Regions from separate parts of the Homo sapiens genome. Here region 1 is linked to region 2. The links are contacts of gene promoters, found by promoter capture Hi-C in human tissues and cell types (Jung and others, 2019). All regions are on one chromosome and are shown on one strand. The core of a region is centred on a gene start or on the middle of the fragment in contact, and the rest is flanking DNA. Distances in the headings are between cores, read along the strand shown. Region 1 overlaps SLC7A14-AS1 (SLC7A14 antisense RNA 1). Region 2 holds the start of SKIL (SKI like proto-oncogene).

Evidence for each region. The method cuts DNA at HindIII sites, captures the fragments that hold promoters and counts their contacts. A contact is called where the count stands out against the background at its distance.
Region 1: a fragment that was not itself captured here is called in contact with the fragment with the promoter of SKIL in region 2 in 1 of the 25 tissues and cell types used here (IMR-90 fibroblasts).

Annotation. Positions count from the first base shown.
Region 1 is chr3:170,712,952-170,717,479 of GRCh38, reverse strand. The region is part of intron 3 of SLC7A14-AS1 (SLC7A14 antisense RNA 1); the gene reads right to left. It overlaps LOC124906302 (a long non-coding RNA gene), which reads left to right. Exons shown (of 3, transcript XR_007096159.1): 2 at 3,413-3,577. Among named protein-coding and RNA genes, the nearest start is that of SLC7A14, 130 kb to the right of the region's middle. The HindIII fragment of the contact is 4,077 bases long and covers 635-4,528 here.
Region 2 is chr3:170,355,316-170,359,348 of GRCh38, reverse strand. It overlaps SKIL (SKI like proto-oncogene), which reads right to left and starts at 1,634. Exons shown (of 7, transcript NM_005414.5): 1 at 1,586-1,634. RefSeq lists silencers at 1,052-1,121, 1,212-1,341, 1,392-1,621, 1,782-2,681 and an enhancer at 2,962-3,061. The HindIII fragment of the contact is 15,648 bases long and covers 1-4,033 here.

The DNA of each region.
Region 1 (4,528 bases), core at 1,424-3,923, 360 kb before region 2:
TACATCCTCTGTATTTTGACTCACTCCAGTTTGAAAACCTATTCTTTTGGGACACTTCACACAAAGGAACAACACTTCCCTTCAGTTCAGCAGACCAAGTTAATGCAACAGGTCCAGACAGAAGGTCTCTGGGACATGGGTGGGAGTTGGAATAAGTCTCCTTGATTTTCCCACAAGACCTTGATCTTTACATAAGACCATCTGAATGGGAACATCAGGACCCAAAGACTTTCACACAGGCAAACCAAAGTAGGGTGGCCAATGTTGTTGGAATGCCATGGTTGATAGTTGGGTCTCTAATGTCAGAGAGCTTGTATTAAACATATCTATAGGGAATGGGGTCTACCTAGCCTTGGTTCAAGGTTCAGTAATGGTGATTCTAGGTACAGGTCAGTAGGAATCGTTGGAGCACGTGTGTGTGTGTGTGTGTGTGTGTGTGTGTGTGTGTGTGTGTGTGTGTGTGAAAGAGAATGTGGAGTTCTGACTGAGAAGGTGCAGCACAGGAAGACCATGCTGAGAGGAAAACTAGAAGCTATAATTTGAGGTGGAAAATGTAAGCAGATATAGGTTATTGTGGAGCTTTCATAATCTTACTCCCTCATTCTTCATGTTTTATCTTCATAAACCCTTTTTACTTTTTCCTCATTGGCCAATTTATTCACTCAATAGATACTCATGGAGTTTCTATGATTCTGCATTCACTTTACTCAGGGAAAATGTTCATTCTCATTCAATTTCTTTATGGAAAAGAGAACTATTCTAAATATGCCTCCACATATCCCCTCTGGAGTGCACTATAGACTCTTTACTGCATCATCTCACTCTTCAAGGCATTTCCTTCTAGAAAGGCTCAATAAATGCTCAAATGCCTCCCACAAAGGAAGCCTGAGGCAAGATTTAGACCCACCATCCATCTGGAGGCACGCATTGTTATCTCTGTGCTGAAAATTCCAAATGAGGCATAACAGTCTGAGAGATTTGCCAGTTCTAAATCACTGATTTGCCCTTCCACTGGCATCCCGTTGTCCTTAAAATCATGGACAGGAGAAAAAGGTTTAAAAGAAGGGAGGGAGTCGTGAGTGGAGAAAAGAACAAAAAAGGGAAAGGAAGGGAAAGGATGGAGAGGGAAGAGAAAGAAAGAAAAGAAAATAGCCATTTCACTCTGCTGGTGGGAGGAGAATAATTCACTGAGTTACGAAAGCATCCTAATCCAGGGTCCACTTGTGTGTGTGTATGCACATGTGTGTGTTTGAACATGTGTGTGTGAAGACGAAAATGAGTACATGCAGTTTTTGTATTGCTTCAGAAATTTATTAAAATTTATCACATTTGATCCATGACCAAAGTGCTATTTATGTGCATTACAACTAAAGTATGACTACATTTAAATTACCAAATAAGCCGAGCTGAATAATCTCTACAACTGAAAATGAGATGCTCCCTCTTTCTTGGCTCTGACTTAGCATTCCTTGATTGAATTACTGATAGTTCTGTTTCAATTTAGACCAACTTCTTCTCTTCATCAAGGGTCAATTTTGGCTCAGAGACACCATGTATTTTCAACTTCTCTTCAGATTGAATGTTTTGGTGACTATACTAGTACTGATGGTAATTATCAGGCAGAGATAGGGTACAAAGTCATCCTGTATAATAATTAGCACTCTCTCCTCCAATTTGACTTTCAACCTTAGGGTCAGTCAGAGACTCTGCAAAGCTTTGCAGGGACAGATATATCACTGCTGTCTTGATATGGTTTGTCTGTGTCCCCACCCAAATCTCATCTTGAATTCCCACGAGTTGTGTGAGAGACCTGGTGGGAGGTAACTGAATCATGGGGGCAAGTCTTTCCTGTACTGTTCTCATGACAGTGAATAAGTCTCACAAGATCTGATGGTTTTATAAAGAGGAGTTCCCCTGCACAAGCTCTCTTTCTTTGCCTGCTGCCATCCATGTAAGACATGACTTGCTTTTCCTTTCTTTCCACCATGATTGTGAGGCCTCCCAAGCCACGTGGAACTGTAAGTCCATTAAACCTCTTTTCCTTTGTAAATTACCCAATCTTGGGTATGTCTTTATCAGCAGCATAAGAATGGACTAATACATGTCTCCATATCTATGAGTTGTGGCACCTGTTTCTCTCATTCTGAGTTTTCATAGACTCTTGTGCAAGAAATTCTGCTTGAAAGAATTCATTTTTGCATTCTTGATCATTCTATTATATTCATTGAAATTACTTGTCACATGAACATTATCAGTGAGTTACCACAAGCATTGCAGTTACTCGTGTGCAACTTTATTATACTTCCACAAGTTATAGCACTATGGAGGATAAGAACTTTGCCATTCTATTCATCTTTCTGTGCACTTAGTAGATACTCAGTGAATGTTGCAGAATCTATGAGGAGTTGTCATTTCTAAATGAATGCTCTTCTAGAATAAATAAGAATTTTCAGGTGTTGACAAATGGTATTCTCTTTGATATAAACCAGTTCCAAATTGCTGAGTAGTTTAGAATTTGTTTGATGTTGTCAGTTTGGGCACAGCATCATTATTTTCAGCAGTAAGTACCATTTTTAAGTGGTTATCTATCTGCCAAGCACTGTGTTTAACATATAATTTTTTTCTAATCTACTAAATAATCCTGGATATAAATTCTACCATTTTGATTTTAAAGATAAAGAAAGTGAAGCTTAGAAAGGTTAAGTAACCCGACCAAGATTGCATATATAAACAGTGAGTAATGTTGCTGGGATTCTTACCACAGTGGGTCTGCATTCATCTTCTACATCATCATACCTCTCATAACCCAACTATAAGGAAAAAAAACAGAAACTCCAAAGATTGTTTGAGATGTGTAACTTATGCAGTGGGTAGCTTTTCTGGAAGCAAAACTATTTTACCTTTATATAGCATTTTAGAATGTATTAAGTACTTATTCATATTATGACTTTATTTGATCTTCACCGAAACCTTATAAGATATTGTTTTTATTTTTATAGTCCAAAGAATTTATAGATAATCTTACTGGATCAGAAAGACTAGAAACCTGCCCCAGGACAGAAGTTGCAGAGCCAGAACTAATCACAGGATTTCTGTGGTTTCTACATGATTCAGCATCCCAAAGATAGCAAGGAATCCTAAAAGACTGAACAGAGAAGCAGTCAGCGGATGGGCTCTAGTCTAACACTGTGGAAACAGAATTGGAAGTCAAATACGTGCCAAAATGTAATGCTGATAGCATGTACATTCAAAGAACATATATAGCAACCACACTTCAGTGCTGATTGGGCAGGGTTTCCATAGCAATATGATTTATTTCCAGTAGAATTTTTCAACTGAAAAGAGTAAGCTTCCCCTCATTAAAAGAAATAAATAAAAAGTTCATCAATATTTATTTTTCCATTATACACAGATCATAATGCCTGGTTATGGCAAAAAGACCGCAATTCCCACCAGAGAGCAAAAAGGAAGTAAAGCTACCATTGTTGATCTGAAACTAAATGGATTCTTGTCCGTTGTGAGGAGCAGCAGCCTACAAAGCACACTGAATGCCAAATGTGTTGCACCAGGGCTACAGGTCTGGCTCCTTCATACCTGCACTGTACTATAATGCACAGATGTTTACACTGGTCTTCCTTAAGTAGAAAAAAAATTAAAGAGGAAGTGAACGATTTTCTTCTAGCTTTCTGTAGGGCTAAGGGAACACTTAGGCTTGAATGGGGCAGAGAAGTCAAGAACTAGAAGAAAACAACAATAATAAAAGTTAACATTTTTTGCATTCTTACTTTGTGCTGGACGCTATTCTAAGCTTCTCCTATGAATTATCTCAGTTACTGTCCCCAACAGCCCCATGAGGTAGGTATTACTACTCTCCCTGGTTTACAGATGTGCAAACCAATGCGCAAGAAGTATCCTGTCCAAGGGCACACATTTGGGGATTGGCAAAGCTAGGATTTAAGCTCTGGAATTTTGGCCCTCAAACCTGAACTTTTAACTCCTTGTCCACACAGGGAAGGAAATTAAAAAGAGAAACTTTCATGCTCAAGCTTCTACGTGTCCTATGTGACCAAACTTGAGATCTTAAGCTGCAGGTTCGCTGGGATTTCCATCATCCCAGGCTGGCTCTTCATCCACAGACTAGGGTGCTTGGAGAATGAAAAGAGACTCACAAGAAGCAAAGCCATGAAACTGATAAAGGCATCTGTTTTTCTAATGCTTTTTCATAAACATACTCATTCCTCTATAATTTCAAATATACAGCTTTCTCCAAAACTCCCTCTACAGCTCAAAGTCTGCTGAAGCCCAGATTTTGGTGAAGCTGCAATTTGATTAGCTGATAATAATTATTTCAAGTTCAAACCTCCGATTTGAACTTGAAATAATTTGCCATTCAGCAATTGTCGTATTTGGAGAAATAGGGTCTGATCCACATTCCTTTCAGCCAAGGAATGATGATATTGTACAATGGCTGCATTCCACACACCAGCTATCTTTGATGACCTTGCAGATAAAAATATCTTGATTAAAA
Region 2 (4,033 bases), core at 385-2,884:
GCTGGAATTACAGGCGTGAGCCACCGCACCCGGCCGAAATCAGTTTCTTAATCTTAAACTGAGTTCAGTTTACCAAGGTGAAGCTTGAGTGATTTCTTTAAATCTAACACCAGTTTACTAGAAGAACATTCATTTAAATAGGAAAGCAATTTGGAGTTGCGTAAAGCGAGCAATAATATAACATAAAAGGCCTTTCGAGTTCAGAATATGAAGACTCTTAAGCAGATCATCTCAATTAGTAGTACCGGGGCTTTCTCAGCTATGCCATTTTAAGGGAGGGAAAAAAATCCATTACTTCATCTCCTATTTAAAAACAAAACAACAGTTTCATCCAAAAAAATCAGATAGGAGTTAACATATCTACCATATGTAACTAAGTTACAATTTTAAGTGGATTAATTCAGCTAGTCCGTGTACACTATTTTTCTGGAATGACTGCAGGCAAAAATTAACTTTCTCTTAAAAAAAGGTTAGCGATTTTACTTAATGGAAGCCAAAAGCTATAGACTCCACGCCTGGGAATCTCCATCCTTCAACAAGACTAATCCGGGACAAAAAGCACAAGGCAGACAAACCTCACAAAGAATGCAAATGGAGGAAGAGGGAAAAAGAAAAGACTCTTTTTCCACTTCCTTCTTGAGAGAAAAGCCAAAAGAAATCCAATAAATAGAAATTTTTGCTTCCCAAACTCTCAGCACTTTACCTTAAAACAGACCCAAAGGATTAAGGACCAATGCCACCAACCATCGTACAGACTTTCGTCCACCACAGGAACACACCTTACTCAACACAGGCCAAGGAAGAGAGCAAGAGGCATGACCTAGAATGGGGGAGCCCCTAAAACCCTGAAGTCCTCCGCCCACTCAAAGCCACCCACCTATCTCTAACCCGGAGAGAGGGAGAACAAGGGACACGGGAAGCCTGGGGGTGGGTGTGCAAGGGGGTGGAGGGAAGTAAAGGGAGGAGTCCCCCCACCCCCACCGGCGAGCCTGGGATAACCCCAAGTGCCCTCCCAACACCGCCCCCCCGCGGGGGCCGCGGGAAGGACTGTGGAAATCCACCCCCCCGCGCACCCTCTCCCTGGGAAGTTCTCGGGTGTCACCTCAGCGCCCCTAATGCTGCACCTCCCCGCGCCAGCCCCGGGCCAGAACGAAGAGGACACCAGGGCAGTTTAGGCGCCGGGCGCGGATCCCTGCGCCGCCGGGGGCTGACGGACCGGGTCGAGACCAGGGCATCCCCGCGGAGCGCTGCTGGACTGGGGGAGGGGGGCGGTGACGGGCGTCCGGGTCTCCGGGGTCCCCGCGGCTCCCGTCAACTACAGCGCCCTGCCCTGCCGGCGCCCACCGCCTGGGGCCAACGAAGCGTGATCAGCCGTGGAACACCCGCCTAGCGACCCCCTCTGGCCCCGACCCCACCCGGGACCCGCGCATCCAAACCCCCTACTCGGGCCTCGGTGCCCGGGTAAGCTCGACGAGCTTTGTGAATTCCCCACCGCCCCTGTCGCCGCCGTCGGGCTCCTAGGAGGGTGAGCGCCTCTGGCCTCCCGCCGCCTCCGCCGCGTCGCCGCCGTAAGCCGGAGCCGCACCTGTGCCCGCCGCCGCCGCCGTCGCCGCTCGCCCGCTCCCTTCGGCTGTGCCGGCGCGGCTCCGAACCCCACACACATCGCTACACACAGCCCTCTGACGTCACCGAGTCCTCGGCCCGCCCACGTCACTGCGGAGACACACAGCTTCCCGCAGACGCCGCCGCCGTCTCCGGCCGCCCGGGGGAGAGCGAGGGCGGCGGGGAGGGGGAGGGGAAGGGAACGGAGCCAGCGGCGGCGCCGCGCGCGCGGGCCCGCCGGCGTCGTCGCCGCCGCCGCCACTTCGCGGCTCCCGGCCCCCTCGTGGACGCGCGTGCCGTCTGGCCTATTGTGGCTCCTCAGAGCGCCCCCCTGGCCCCGTCGTCTCGCGCGCGTGCCCCTCCCCCCAGGCGCGCGCCCGGCGCTTCTGGCCCCGCGCGCCGTCTGGGAAGCTGGCGCGCGGCGCTGTCTGCGGTGCACCCGGCGCAGACAGGATGTTCCCTCCCCACCCCACCCTCACCGCCGCCCTCCCTCCTTCCTTCCTCTAGTCGCCCAGCCGGCTGTCTGGGGCCACCGCCCCGCCCCCGCCCCACCCGCCGCTCTGTGGTGATGGGCCAGACGCGGGGGCGCCCTGGCCGCTCGGACGCCGCGCAGCGGGGAAGAGGGGGCAGGGCAGCCGCGCGGTGCACTGTGCGCGACCCCAGCAGCCGGCAGGGCGGAGGCAGTGCCCGCCCGGCAGAGTGCCGCCGCCCGAGGTCAGGCACGGGCGACCCTCCCCCTGCGGGGCCGCAGCTGGGCCGCCCCGCCCCGGAGGCAGCCGGGCGGCGGCCGCCCTGCAGGGCCCCCGGGGCCGGCTCTGCTCCCCGCCCCCGCGGGACCTCCCTCCTGGGCTGCCCCTCGCCCCCGCGGGGCCTCCTGCCCGAGGGCCGCCCAGCCAGCTGCCGGCGCTCCGCCCCGCCCCGGCGGCCCCGGCCTCGCCCGGGCGGCCTCCACCCAGACGCCTTCCCCTGGCTGACCTCCATCCGCCATCGGGCCGGGCGGGAGGGGTGGCCAAAGTTCCGGCAAAACCGAGAGCAAACATTTCTGTCCCTACTCCCCAGCCTCCTGCCTCCACCCCACCAGGCTGCTCTCTCGGTTCCAGAAGGGAGCTATAAATTAAAGGTTTTTACAGTGTTTACTGAGGGTGTTTTTTTGTGTGTGTGTTTTTTTGGAGAGGGACGAGACGAGGTAGGGAAGATAGGACTCAAGAGCTTTCCGGCTGTGACCCTCTGAGGCGTGTAGGGTGGTCTTCCTGGTTCCCAGGGTAGCCGATTAGCATATTGAACTCTGCAGAGCTGCTCCGTCACATTTCGAAACACCAAGAAATCCCCTTTTCTCCACCCCACCACAAGATCAGGAACTGAAATAGTCCACCGAGTAGCAGTGCACAAAATTCAGGAGACTCGAGCTTTGTCCCTTTTTTCCCCCCCATTTTCGTCCAATTTCTTCTAGTTTTACTGCTTCGGGTTGTTCCTGTGGGGGCCCACATTTGCAGTCGGCCGGCTGGAAATACTCTTGTGCTCGTACTTTTTATTTTTTTTTTCCTCACAACAGGCCTCCGAAAGGCTCACAAGCCTCTCAATCCCCACCACTCCCCGCACCCCCACCCAAGTTCCCTTCCTTAGGCCTCCACCGCCGAGCTCCCAGGTCGTGCCCCCTCTCCACCCCGCCCCCCCACCTTTTCTTCCTTCTTGACTGCCTCCTTTCCTGAACATGAATAATTCCACAGCACTTTCCATCTGTTATTGCCATAGAGACAGAAGCGTGGCAAAGATAATGATGTTCTGTGCAGAGCCAGTGGGGGAAAAACAGCATCTGCGAGTCTAGGGGGATAGATTTTCTAACTGTGAGAATATTCAGAAGGCCTAGCTGAAGATCTGATGTGAAGACTGGACAGTCCTGAAACTTGGCACCAGGTCAACTCTCAGCACCTGGCTCCTGTGTCTAGCCAGAAGTAACAATTTTTAGAAACCAACATGACTGGTTAATAAAAAAGTAATTCCAAAACTGCAATTATTAATAAATGTTTAGCAGTCATTTTACCAGCCATAAGAATAATTACTTGCTAGCATGTCCAAGGACGAAGATAAATTGGACAGTAAATAGACTTTTGAGAAATCAAACACATTAATCCGCCTCCCCGTTCTGTTGATTTGCATTCCTCAGAAATCTGTTTTTGAGAGATCTTTCATGCCTGTGATTTTAAGTGCAATGGTTTGACAAATAGTGACCGGCAAATATGACTAGAACCAATCAAATTTGAGGGCATTTATTTTTCCCTTATTGGTCAAAGTACAAAATGCATCAAATTAAAATCATTTTGTCCTTGAATTCCCAAACCTCAAAGGTACGCGTTTGAAAGCAAGTGAAACTGAACGGGGTCCATTTATACATAGATCTGAGGCAGATGGGGAGGCTCACAGGAAGGCACAT